Regions from separate parts of the Homo sapiens genome. Here all the other regions are linked to region 2. The links are contacts of gene promoters, found by promoter capture Hi-C in blood cells and fetal thymus (Javierre and others, 2016). All regions are on one chromosome and are shown on one strand. The core of a region is centred on a gene start or on the middle of the fragment in contact, and the rest is flanking DNA. Distances in the headings are between cores, read along the strand shown.

Region 1 (4,894 bases), core at 1,810-4,309, 540 kb before region 2:
TTGAGTCAGGGTGGTATCTGTGGAGGTGGTGAGAAGGACTTGAATATATTTTGAAGACAGAGCCAACGGGTCTTGCTGATAAATGTGAAGTGTGAGAGCAAGAAAAGACTCAAGAATGATGCCAAGGTTTTTTGCCTGTCCAACTGAAATGATGGGATTGCTGTTAACTAATGAGAAAGATGGTGAGAGAACAGGTTTTGGGTGGGTTGGTATTCATAGCTTAGTTTTATAATTTGAATGTCATACGAAGATGTCAAATACACAGTTGGATACACAAACTGAACATACATATACAGGAGTTCTTCATGTATTCTTAATACTAATCCTGTCAGATACATGTGTTGCAAATTTCTCCTCTTAGTTTGTAAATCGTGTTTTCATTTTAAGGTGTTCTTTAATTAATTGATGCTCAATTTTAATGTAATCATATTTATCAACTTTTCATTTATAGTTGATGCTTTATGTGTCTTAAGAAAAATCTTTTCTTACCCTGAAATTAAAATGTTAACCTATTTTTTTCTTAAAAGTTTTCAAGTTTTGTTTGTTTTGCTTTTTTGGGACAGAGTCCCACTCTGTTGCTCAGGCTGGAGTGCAGTGGCGTGATCTTGGCTCACTGCAACCTCCACCCCCGGGTTCAAGTTATTCTCCTGACTCGGCCTCCAGAATAGCTGGGATTACAGGTGTGTGCCACCACACCTGGCTGATTTTTGTATTTTTAGTAGAGATGGGGTTTCATCATGTTGGCCAGGCTGGTCTCAAACTCCTGACCTCAGATGATCTGCCTGCCTCAGCCTCCCAAAGTGCTAGGATTACAGGTGTGAGCCACCGCACCTAGCCAAGTTTTGTTTTTTACATTTAAATTCTTTTTTTTTTTTTTTGAGATGGAGTTTTGCTCTTGTTGCCCAAGTTGGAGTGCACAGTAGCACGATCTCAGCTCACTGCAACCTCCGCCTCCCGGGAGCAAGTGATTCTCTTGCCTCAGCCTCCTAAGTAGCTGAGATTACAGGCACATGCCACAGTGCCTAGCTAATTTTTTGTATTTTTAGTAGAGATGGGGTTTCATTATGTTGGCCAGGCTGGTCTAGAACTCCTGACCTCAGGTGATCCACCCACCTTAGCCTCCCAAAGTGCAGAGATTACAGGCATGAGCCACTGCACCTCGCCTTACATTTAAATTCTTAATACTAAAATAAATTATTTAAGTAAAAGAGAGCCTTTCATGGATCAATGATGGGAAGGTGTCATAAACCAAGGACTCTGTGCCCTTGAGGTTAAGAACAACAATGACAGAAAGGAATAGGAAGATAATTGGACTACTAATTCCTCTTTTAATGAAGCAGTCCTACCTCTTCACCTAGTTTGCTGAAATAAATAGTATGTTGTCTTTCTACCACAAAGCCAAGTGTTGTTCATAGTCCTCAACAGTTCAATAAATATTTATTGACTGACAAGGCAAAGGTTTGCAGGTACAAGAAGGGAAAGGTTAACAATTAGATATAACCGTTTCTAGGGACCCTGGATTTGGTCTTCCTTAAACCCTCCAGGGTAATGATTCTCTAAGTGTGGCCTTTGACTACCTGCATTAGAATCACATAAGGTACTTTATTAAAAATAAAGATTCCTGGGCTGGGCACGGTGGCTCATGCCTATAATCCCAGCACTTTGGGAGGCCAAGGCAGGTGGATCATGAGGTCAGGAGATCGAGACCATCCTGGCTAACACGGTGAAACCCCGTCTCTACTAAAAATACAAAAAGTTAGCCGGGCGTGGTGGCGGGTGCTTGTAGTCCCAGCTACTTGGGAGGCTGAGGCAGGAGAATCGCACGAACCTGGGAGGCAGGGGTTGCAGTGAGCCGAGATTGCACCACTGCACTCCAGCCCAGGCAACAGTGCAAGACTCCATCTCAAAAATAAATAAATAAATAAATAAATATTCCTGGGCCTCACCCAGGTCCATTGAATCAGGATCTTTGGAAATGCAGCCCAGGATCTGTTTTTTTTTTGCTTTAAAAATCAATTTTATTCATGTATAATTTACATGCAATAAAAGGTGTCCTTTTTAAGCTTACAGTTCTGTGAGTTTTGACAAATGTATACAACCATGTAATCACTACCGTAATCAAAACATAAAACTTTTTCCTCACCCCACGCGATCCCCTTGTATCCATTTGCAGTCAGTTTCCCTTCTAACCTCCCCACCCCAGCCCAAGATACGCGCTGATCTGCCTGCTATCACCATAGATTAGTTCACCTGTTGTAGAATTTCACATAAGTGATATCACATAGGATGCATCTTTTCATATCTGGGTTTTTTGGCATGGCCTAATGTTGTTGTGATTTATCCATACTGTTGTGTAGATTCCAAGTTTGTTCTTTCTATCGCTCAGGAGTACTCTAGCATGTACCACAGTTGGTCTATTTATTAGACATGTGGGTGTTTCCAGTTTATGACTATTATGAATAAAGTTACTATAAATGTTCACGTACAAGTCTTGGTAAAGATACGTGATTTCCAGAAATCTGTGTTTAATCAGCATCTCCAAGAGACTTGTGCATGCTGGAGTGTGATACCTGCTGCCCTAAGTGACCAGCAGGCCCTGGGTTAGAGGGAGCTCAATGCTGGACAAGAAGCACTGGACCTTTGTCCAAGAAGACAAAGGTCAAATAATTGAGTAGTTGGCTACATCCATCTACCTTATTGGGACACTGATTGTTTTATCCCCTGGAAGGGGTTTTGCTGCTTAAAAACTATTATCATTATCATGGTTTGGGGATATTGAAAATGCCAAACTATTTCTCTCATTACTTATATGTGCTTTTTCTCTCTTTTCTTTCAGATTTTAGAAGGAGCCAAAATTATTTCTTCTCTCAGAGTAGTAGAGGGAATTATGGAAAGTAATTTTTTTCCATTTTTATTGTGTTAAAATACATGTTACATAAAATTTATCATCTTAACCATTTTTAAATGTGCATTTCAGTGGTATTAAATACATTCATAGTATTGTAAAAATATCACCACCATCTAGCTCCATAACTCTTTTCATCCTGTAAAACTGAAACTCTATACTCGTTAAACAATGGAAGGTAAATTCTTATCCAGAATCTAAGGTCTTCAGTTCAGCTTCTGGATCTTTCCTCAGAAAGGCCTGTTTGGAATGGAGAGGTATGGGATGCGACAGAGCTGGGCTTGAATTTTTTGGTTGCCTCCCAGCTCTGTACCTAGCTCCTAGCTCTCTAGAAGTCAGTTCTCTCATCTGTAAAAAGGAGTGATTTGATTTCTACCTCTTGGCATTGTATTAAGAATTAGAAATAATACAAATAAACCTCCTGGCCTGTAATCCCAGCACTTTGGGAGGCCGAGGTAGATGGATCACAAGGTCAGGAGTTCGAGATCAGCCAAAATGGTGAAACCCCATCTCTACTAAAAATACAAAAATTAGCTGGGCATGGTGGCATGCACCTGTAATCCCAGCTACTCAGGAGGCTGAGGCAGGAGAATTGCTTGAACCTGGGGAGTGGAGGTTGTAGTGAGCTGAGATCACGCCATTGCACTCCAGCCTGGGTGACAGAGCAAGACTGTCTCAAAAAATAAAATACATAAATAAATAAATAATAATAAAAAAACTTCCTGCAGTGTAACAGGCCTTGATAAATAATTACCATTAACTAACATTTGTAAATGTGAAAGAAAAATAGACTCTCAGGACCCCAAACTCACCATGCCAAAGGGAAAGTTAAGCCTAGGAACTGAGTCACCAACGCTGTCTTCCTTTTGTTCTCAAACAGATAGCTGTAATTTCACAACCCCTGTCATAGCCACATTTCCTGTCCTCTCACCTTTCACATGTTTACTTTACCTTAGGTAAAATATAGATTTACTGAGCACAAGACAATGCATAAATGATTTTTTCCTCTATTCTCTTTTAGCATGTAAAATGTAGATTTATGGAGGCTAACCAGAGCCTTATAAAAATGTAACCGTCTGCCTCACTGTCTACCCTCCCTCCCTTTTTTCCCCTCCTGCTTGTTCTCTCCCCTGTAAACACTGTAGTTCCCAAAGCTTCTTTTGGGAAAAGCATAGGTCACACGTACCTTGGTGACTTGTGTGTTTTTCCCTGGTGTGTCCTCAACCTTGGCTAAATAAACCTCTAAATGATTAAGACAGCTGCCTCAGTCACTTTTTGGTTCTGTAAGTTATCTACAGTTTATAGGATAGAGGTTAGATTCACAGCTGTGTGACCCTGGAGAACTCACTTAACATCTCTGTGCTTCAGTTTCCTTATCAGTGCAAGGGAGATCATAACAGCACTTACCATAGTGGGTTGTGAGGATTAAATGAGCTGGTCCATGTAAACCACTCGAGATGGTGCATGTGCCTGGTAAGTGCTCAAATGTTAACTATTATTAATTTTATCTTCACCAGCCTTTAGGATATTGTTATTGTCCCCTAAGGCTCAGAGAAATGATGGCCTCTAAGCCATTAGGTGAGGACTCAAGCCCGGCTTTGTCTGATTCTGATCCAATAGTTGTTACACCTTTGCTTCTGGCAACATATTTGTTTACTCTCCCAATTGCCACCAGGGAAAATAATTTCATGGGCCATGATAAAAGCGTGAATGAGATAGTTGCTTTAGATTCAGGCATTTCTAGTACCCAGAAGCCTTAGGCAAATATATCTTCTGGAAATTCTACCTTCATCACCAATTCTTCCACACCTGGGAGGCAGCAGAATTTATCAGGGGCAGCCCAAGGGTTATCATTGACTTTCTCCAATTTCCTTTCCATCCACAATTTGGTTTATCACTCAGTTCATACTCTGTCCAAAAATATGTCCTGGAATCTGTCTTCTCCTTTGAACTCTTATCTGCCTAATTAGGCTTCAGGTTTCCAAGGCC
Region 2 (4,384 bases), core at 207-2,706:
AAATCAAAACCACAAAGAGATACCATTCCACACTCACTACGATGGCTATCATAAAAAATAACCAGTAAAAAAGTAACAAGCCTTGGGGAAGATGTGAAGAAATCGGAACCCTCATACACTGCTTAGTGGGAAAGTAAAATGGTACAGCTGCTTTGCTTGGCAGTTCCTCAAAAAGTGAAACACGGAGCAATTGCCCTCCTAGGTATATACCCAAGAGCACTGAAAACACATGTCCACAAAAACGTGTAAACAAATGTGCATAGCAGCATTACACACAATGGCCAAAAACTGGAAACAACCCAAATGTACATCAACTGATGAATAAACAAATGTGGTACACTGATACAACAATATTAATATGCTATAAAAAGTAAAGTACTGATACATACTACATGAGTGAAACTTGAAAACATTACAGTATGTCTTTCGACGCCAGACACAAAAAGCCACATATTGTACGCTTCCATTTATATGAGATTTCCACAACAGGCAAACCCATATAAACAGAAAGTAGATTAGTGGTGGCTAGTGGGGTGGGGTCAAGGGGAAATGAGGAGTGATTACTAAGAGAGACAGGGTTTCTTTTGGGGATGATGATCTGGATAGTGGTCATATTTGGAAAACTCTGTGAATATATTAAAAGCCACACTTTAGAAGAATGAGTTTTATGGCATGTGATGTATATCTCAATTTAAAAATTGTCACTACAAAAAAAAGATGACATATATACGTAATATACACATCAATGTATATCGGTAACACATAGATATGTGTCATCTCTCTCTGTAAATGAGCATTTGGGCTTTTAAATTTGAGATATGCTCCGTGTATATAAAGAGAAGAATGAAAGAAAAGGGTGACGGGGCACTCGCGGAGCCCTGAACAGGCATCTGGGGTGTGCCCGAGCCAGCCTCGCAGCATCTCCATCCCAGCTCACCTTCAGCCATCACTCATACACCACCCGCCGCCTGTCCCTGCCTTGGGCGCCCGGGACCGCTTGTCCGCGGTGGCCGCGGAACAGCTTCCCTCAGCCCGAGGTGGGGCAGGCGCGGGGGCCTGGGCTCGGGCGCTGCCCGGCGGCCCGGAGAGGCGTCCGCAGGGGGCACGGCTGCTCGGGCGGGGCCGCTCCCTCTGCTCCCCGCGCCCCCGCCGCCGGGTCCCGAGCCCAGGCCTCTCGGCCCCACCTCCCTCCCGCACCTGATGCGCCCGAACGCGGCGCCGCGGCCGAAGCCGAGACTTCCCCTCCATGGTCACCTGTTCCGGAGCGCGGCGGCGGCAGCGGCCGGTGTGAGAAGGGTCCCCGTCTCCTCAGACCAGACCGAGACACCAGGGGCGGGGGATGGAAGGGGCATTCACCTGGTGCCCGGCACCGGTGGTGGCGGGGAGGACAGCGGCTCCCAGCCCACAGCTCCTTCCTGCTCCCGCGCCTCCTCGCGCGGCTGCGGCCCCAAGCTGACAGCCCGGCCGTCGGCGCCCGCGGCCCCCTGACTCCCCGCCGCCCCGCCCCCGCGCGGCAGCCCCGCGCAAGCGCAGCCGCGCCGCCGCCGGGGAAGCCCGGGCCTTGGTGATGTGGCCCGCGGGGCGGCGACCCGGAGCGACAGCACCGCCCCGCCCGGACCCCGGCCGCGCCCTGGCAGACAGCTGTCGGGAACGGGGGCGCTGGATGACGGCAAGGGGGCAGTTTTCTGGGGAGCCTGCCCAGGAGAGAAGGGCTGTGGCCTCCTTCGGCATCCCTCTTCCCCACCAGCCCACGCACGCCCACTTCACCGCCTGCTCCAAGGTCCGAACCCCCGAATCCATGACTCATGATTTCTCTTCTCAGACCAGCGGCCTCTTTTTGGCTGAGGTCATGTTTCTTGCAGACTGGAGTTAAAACCGAACCACGTGTCTTTCGGCCCAGCAGCGCATAGTGTGGGCGGTGCAGGAGCCGAGACGGGCAGGAACCACCGCAGGAGGGGGTGAGGTTTAGGGCAGCCCCATAGCACCCTCCCCGTGCCAGGCAGGTGTAGGCGCCAAGCGCATGGGGCGCTGAAGAGTTGGCTGGGGTGCCAGGCTTTTCAAGTTTCCCCACACTTGCTTTTAAACCTAGATCAAACTGATCCAAAGTCTGCATGTAAATCCGAGAGCTCATTTATTTTATTTACAAAACTATTGAGCATCTACTGTGTATGATTCAGGGAATGAGACACACCCCAGGGATACTCCAGTGAACAAAAGAAAGGTGTTGGTCCGAAGACAGTTATTTTAAAAATTACACAGCTAATGCCATAATGCCAGGATTGGTGGCTCATGCGTGTAACCTCAACACTTCGGGAGGACCAGGCGAGAGGATCGCTTGAGGCCAGGAATTTGAGACCAGCCTGGGCAAACACAGCGAGACCTGGAGTGGCTAGGAGACTGAGGTGGGAGGATCGCCTGAGCCCAGGAGTTCAAGGCTGCAGCGGGCTATGATCGCATCACTGCACTCCAGTCTGGGCCACAAAATGAGACCTTGTCTCTAAAACAACAACTCAAAATTACACAGCTAATGATACTCTTTTCCTCAAATCAAAGCTTCTACCAATTCCAAGCCACACCAGTGATTTAGTAGCAGCTTTTCTGGTGCTGAAGGACACCAGCATACATTTATCCATGTTCTTTTTTTTTTTCCTTATGCTTTGCGATCAGACTTTGAGCTTTAACCTTAACCTTCAGGGTGAAGGGTGCTTCGGTATCACTCTTGGCCATCTGCAGTCATGCTTTTTATAATGACTCATCCTGGTGTTCCTCACCACCTAAAAATGAAAGTATAATTGCAAGGAATATGGAAAAGCAGTGTTTTGACTGCATTTCCAGCTGGTTTTTGTTCTGGTTGTTTTTTGAATTACAGATCATTAGAAAGTAGCTGCTCTTGAAAGTTTGGCAGAAGTTCCACCCAATATGTGTTCCTCCCCTGAGTGTGTAGTCTTTCAAGATTTCTACACAAAGCATATACAGAAGCCAGCCTGTCTTGGTTTTGAAAATTCTTCCACCATTTTTTTCTGAGAGAGCTGGTGGTTTCTACCGTCCTTCAGAGCATTACATGGCATGTGGCAGGCAACCTTCTACTTACATTCTTCATTCAGTACCGCAAAGTAGTGTGTACTTTGGAGATATGTTAAGCTTCAAGTTGGAATCCAAATTTAAATCAAATTTCAGCCCTGAAAATAACTCACATTGGAATCGGGCGAGGAAATGCCCCCTTGTAAAAAACTGGGTCCTAATGGGTGCAGACAACAACAATCCCATTTCTACTTCATCTCCCGTCTGACAGCTGGCAACTTCAAATGTGAAGCAAGTGGCTTGGACTTGAGGCTGTGTGGTGATGCTGTTGTGATTGCTGGAAAAAAGCCTGAGAGTTATGAGAGTGTATAACAAAGGAGCGTGTCTGTGCTAGGGGGTAAGAAAGATCTCCTGGAGGAAGTGACATTTAATCTCAGCCTTGAAGAATAAGGAGGAGTTAGGGCAGGCAACATAGAGAAGGGGGTGGGGTGGGCAGTGCATTTAGCTGTGGAAACTGCAGGTTTGAAGGCCCTTTGGTAGGAAGAGGCTCTGTCTGTGAAGGCTTTGGGAAAAGGCCACTGTGCTTAGACTGAGAGAGCTACCTGGGAGGGAGAGGTGGGCGGGCCCTTGAGGGTCAGGTTAAGGACTTTGGATTTAATCCTAAAGACAAAAGAAGCCAATGAAGAGTTGAAAAGGTCCTATCTGGACATGAAAAATTGCATTTGTAAAAGATGATCCTGGATGCAGTGGCTCACACCTGTAATCCCAGCACATTGGGAGGCTGAGGTGGGAGGATCACTAGAGGCCAGGAGTTTGAGACCAGCCTGGGCAACATTGCAAGACCCCCATCTCTACAAAAATAAAATAAAATTAGCCAGGCTTGGTGGCACGCACCTGACTGAGCCCAGGAGCTCGAGGCTGCAGTGAGCTATGATCGTGCCTCTGCATTCCAGCTTGGGCAGCAGAGTGTGAGACATTGTCTCTTAAAAAAAAAAAAAAAAAAAAAAAAAAGAGATTATTCCGGCTGCAGAGTGGAGAATTAATAAGAAGGGTGCAACAGAGGATGTGTGACAACCAGTTTGCAGGCAATGGAGATTAGGAGATGATGGTGGATTGAAGATATAGGTCAGGGTTAGAACTGTAAGGATTTGATCAAATGCATGGAAGGTAAAGGCGAAAAAGTGTCAAAAAATGACTCCCAAGTTTCTAATTTGAGTTTATGCCATTTCCTGATTTGGGAAATGTGGAGGAGGAGATCAGAAGGGGACAATTTTGAGTTGCTTTATATATGTTGAGTTTGATACCCCTATGAGACATTCAAATGAAGATACTGACTCTATGTTTGAAAAACTGCAACTCAGAG
Region 3 (4,530 bases), core at 1,270-3,769, 520 kb before region 2:
TTATTTATCCATTCTGGAGTTGACAGAGGATTTTTTTTTTTCCTCCTGGTTTGGGTAGCTCCACTTTTTACCATTTTACTATTATTTTATGTCTGTGTGCAGCTCACAGTCAAAAGTGCTGGATTCATGTCCTGGATACTCTACTTACCAGCTCTGTGAACCTTGGGAAAACTAGCCTTTCTGAGTCTCATTTGTCTCTGCAAACAATAATGCCTAATTTCCCTTGGTTTCCTATTCAATCAGCAAGCGTTTATTGGTCACCTGCTATGTGCCATCATTCTAGGAGATTTAGCAGTGACCGACACAAAGATCCCTGCTCCACACGTTTGTACCTTTGTCCCTTCAGTTCCCTTTCTTTGGGAAGCTCTTTCTTCCCAGATCCATCCTTCTTCTTCCTTACTCCCACCCACATTTTTGCTTCTTTATTTTCTGCTCATCCTTCTAGACTGAAGTCTGACATCCTTTCCTTTCCTCTAGGAAGCCTTACATGGCCCCTGGCAGAGCACTGGCCACTGTTTACTGAAATGTTGGGGGCTTGGTCTGCACACCTGTCTCCCCCGTGATCTGTGAGCTTCCTCAGGGCAAGGGCTGATTTCCTGCACCTTTGGCATCTGCAGTGCCTATCCCAGGGTTAAGCTCAGGGTAAAGTCTTAGTACAAGTTAAGAACTTTTGTTTTAGCCAAATAAGCCAGTGTGATGGCCACTCAGGTCATACCTGCTGAGTTAGCACATCAAGACGGTAGTCCTGCCCCTGAAACCAGAACTTATTCCAGGTGGTTTTCAGGGGGTTCAGCCACATTACGGGGGTGATTAGGTATAAGGAGCCCTGGAGTTCTTCGGGCCAAAAAACTTGCTCTCTCCAAGCCTCTATTTTGTCAGTTAAATGGCTACCTTTTCAAGGTTATCTGGGAGACTTAGAGAAAGTATACTCGAAGTGCCTGGCGTCTAAGAATAACGATTTCATTGACTGAAAGCTTATTATATATTCAGCTTAAAAGGCACTTTACATATTTTAACTAATTTAATCAACACAACAGCCTGTGATGAAGGAGCTGTCACTATTTGTGTCAACTTACAAATGTGGAAACTGAGGCACTGAGTGTTTAAGGGACTTGCCTAATGCTACACTGACACAGCCAGTAAGTGGTAGAACTAGGAAGGAGACTGGTCTTGACTGCTACAGCCCACCTTGCCCAGGAGCTGCAGCCGCCACCCAGAGACCCAGCTCAGAAACTTCCAGACAGCATGGTAGCACAAAAGGCTGCAAAAACCTTCCTGATCTTTCTCTTCCCCTTTCCTTTAGGGCCAGTTCAGGCAGTGAAGTCGGAGCTTCCTTTGAAGTCTTCTCCCTCCTCTCCTGATGAGGCCTCAGGGAAAATGAGTCCTTTCCTTATCTCAGCAGCAAAGAAATTGTCCAAAGACAGCAGTAGCATCTCCGTGGGAAGCTCAGGAATACTAATGATAAAACAAATTGATAAATTCAATTTCAAATGTGTTGATGAGAAAAACTAATTGATAAGCTCATTCATTTATTTAACAAGTATTTATGGAGTACCAACTCTATGCCAGTGTGGAGAATTAACTCTAAACAAAACAGCTGAGGTCCCTGGCCTGATGAAGCTTATGTTCTTGAGTTGGGATGTTACCAGAGGCGAATCTGTAGGGGTCTGCAGCAACCTCAGTTCTTGCCTCTTTAGAAGAAAGAATTTGACCAAGGGGCAGACAGTAAAAGGAGAGACTGAGGCAAGTTTTAGAGCAGGAGTGAAAGTTTATTGAAAAGCTTTGCTGGCCGGGCGCGGTTGCTCACACCTGCAATCCCAGCACTTTGGAAGGCTGAGGCAGGCGGATCACCTGAGGTCAGGAGTTCAAGACCAGCCTGGCCAAAATGGTGAAACCCTGTCTCTACCAAAAATACAAAAATTAGCTGGGCGTGGTGGCATGCACCTGTAATCCCAGCCACTTGGGAGGCTGAGAGGCAGGAGAATCGCTTGAACCCGGGAGGCAGAGGTTGCAGTGAGCCGAGATCATGCCCGTGCACTCCAGCCTGGGCGACAGAGTGAGACTCTGTCTCAAAAAAAAAAAAAAAAAAAAAAAAAAAAAAAAAAAAAAAAAGCTTCACTGCAGAAACAAAAGGAAGGAAAGTATACTTGGAAGAGGATTAAGTGGGTGACTTAAAAGACAAGTTTGACCTTTCGACTTGGGGTTTTATATGTGGGCATGCTTCTGGGGTCTTACGTCTCTTCTTTCCTGATTCTCCCCTTGGGATGGGCTGTCCTGTCCGCATGAGCAGTGGCTGCCAGTGCTTGGGAGTGGAGCATGCGCAGTGTGTTTACTGGAGTTGTACCCATGCTCACTCGAGACGTTCTTCCCTTACCAGCCCAATGTCCCTTAGGAGGTCATATTCCAGTTAAACTCCACCACTTTACCTCTTAGGGCACATGTGTGAGCCCACTCACCCAACTGCTAAGATCTTACCAGGAAGCTACTGATCACCAGTTTCAGGTTTTTCCCTTTGATAGGACGACTGCGTTTCCCTGGCACTGGCTGGACCAATTATTATTTTAGAGAGACAGTTAAGAACCACCTGACCATCACCTGATGGTCCCCTGACATTCCTGGTGGTGGGTGGGGGGCCTTTCCTGCCCTGTTCATGTCTGACTAGCTACCTACTGTAACAGTATAAATATCTTTTTGACACTTTCATTTACAGGAAAGAAAATGCAAGAATGCTTGGAAAAAAAAAGACCCAAATACCAAAATTTGGACAAACTAAACAAGTAAAAGAAGAAGTGGCAGAAAGAAAACTTAGACTTCTTGAAATAATTAATGAAAGGATGTTTTGAAATAGCAAGTTTGTCCAGTATAGGTATAATGAAATTTGATTTACCAAAATTCCATTTTTTTCCAAGAATTTGTGGTATAACATGAAGCTTACCTTTCACAGCCAAGGCAAGGTCATCCCCCCCTTGGAGGACATGGTGCTGCTGATGACTCTTGAGACATCTCAACCTACAGTGGCTTCAAAACTTATGCCTTCAGCTCTGCCTCCTCCCCACTCCCAAGCTTCAAACTCAAATATTCAGCTGCCTGCCTGTCTATAGATCCTCTTGGATGTATAATAGCATCTCAGCTCCAGCATAACCAAAAGATAACTCTTGATTTTCACCCAAATCTTGTTTTTGGTTTTTTTCCCCTTAGTCTTTACCACTTCCTTAAATGGCAACACCTATTCAATTGCTCAAGCCAAAAACTTAGGTGGCACCCATATTCTTTATTGTGGCTATCAATAGCAAAGGCAGCTATTGTTTAATTGAGGGTAACAGAGACCCAAAATAACTGTGACTTAAAAAAATAGAAATCTACTTTGCTTATTTCTTCCTCTGGTAGAGAGGGAGGTAGGTAGTCCAGACTTCCTAGTGTATCTAAACTCCATGAACTCCTCGGGGATGCAGGCACCTTTCAGGTCATTGTTCCACCATCCCTGGATGTGATCTACCTCTTCATGACACAATACGACAGCAAAAGCACCAGTCATTGCATCATGGGTCCAAGTGGCAGGACCCCTGTAGGAAGGAGGCATGGAAAAGAAGGGGCAGAGAGCATATACTAGCTATCTTTTAAGCAAGGTAATTTTGCTAAGACTTCACTGGCAGAACTTAGTCACATGACTACATCACCTAACTATAAGAGAGGCTGGGAGATGTAGTTTTTATTGTAGGAAGTCATGTGCTTAGCTAAAACTTGGAAGTTTTATTGCTATGAAAGAATAGACCAGATATTGGGGTTAGTAGGAATGGCCAAAAGTTCCTGCCGTATCTGGGTTGTAAACTCTAGGCTACTGGGCCCCTGCCTGCTATTTGACCCCACCTCCTCGACCATGTTCAACACAATGTAGCCATTCTGGCCTCTTCTAATGTCCTTTGAATACACCAGGCTTATCCCTGCCTTAGAGCCTTTGTGCTGCCACTCTCTGCCCCTGAGATGCACCCTCCAGATTTGCACATGGCTGACTTCTCATTATTCCAGTTTTGGCCCAAATGTCAGATCCTTACTGGGCCTTCCCTTGACCACCCTTTCTAAGGCAGTGTTTCTGCACCAGCCAGCTTCGATCACATAACCCCATTTCATTTTCCTCAAAGTACTCCAGAGTAACTCTCTGAAAACATCTTCCACTTTGTGTGTGTGTATGTGTCTCCCTGTTCCAGTGAGTAGCTAGTCAGACATGAGCAGGGCAGGAGAGGCCCCGCTCCAACCCAAGCAGGAATGTCAGGTGGCCATCAGGTGATGGTCAGGTGGTTAACTGTCTCTCTAAAATAATAATTGGTTGCAGCCAGCCCCAGAAAAAGGCAGTCTCCCTATAGAAAAGAAAAACCTGAAACTGATTATCAGTAGCTACCCGATAAGATCTCAGGAGTTGGGAGACTGGGCTCACACATGAGCACTAAGGGGGAAAATGGCGGAGTTTAACTGGCACATGACCTCCTAGGGACATTGGACTGGTAAAGGAGTAACACTGTAAGTGAGCATGGG

The links. The method cuts DNA at HindIII sites, captures the fragments that hold promoters and counts their contacts. A CHiCAGO score of 5 or more calls a contact.
Region 1: a contact is called between a fragment that was not itself captured here and the fragment with the promoter of SLC41A2 in region 2, in 4 of 17 cell types (total B cells, total CD8 T cells, activated CD4 T cells and 1 more). The highest score is 5.2, in total B cells.
Region 3: a contact is called between a fragment that was not itself captured here and the fragment with the promoter of SLC41A2 in region 2, in 10 of 17 cell types (total B cells, naive B cells, non-activated CD4 T cells and 7 more). The highest score is 10.1, in total B cells.

The regions. Positions count from the first base shown.
Region 1 is chr12:104,417,279-104,422,172 of GRCh38, forward strand. No RefSeq gene overlaps it. Among named protein-coding and RNA genes, the nearest start is that of CHST11, 37 kb to the right of the region's middle. The HindIII fragment of the contact is 1,996 bases long and covers 2,062-4,057 here.
Region 2 is chr12:104,956,834-104,961,217 of GRCh38, forward strand. It overlaps SLC41A2 (solute carrier family 41 member 2), which reads right to left and starts at 1,457. Exons shown (of 11, transcript NM_001352171.3): 1 at 1,255-1,457. RefSeq lists silencers at 846-1,175, 1,366-1,635. The HindIII fragment of the contact is 5,296 bases long and covers 1-2,551 here.
Region 3 is chr12:104,434,660-104,439,189 of GRCh38, forward strand. No RefSeq gene overlaps it. Among named protein-coding and RNA genes, the nearest start is that of CHST11, 20 kb to the right of the region's middle. RefSeq lists an enhancer at 1,502-1,671. The HindIII fragment of the contact is 817 bases long and covers 2,112-2,928 here.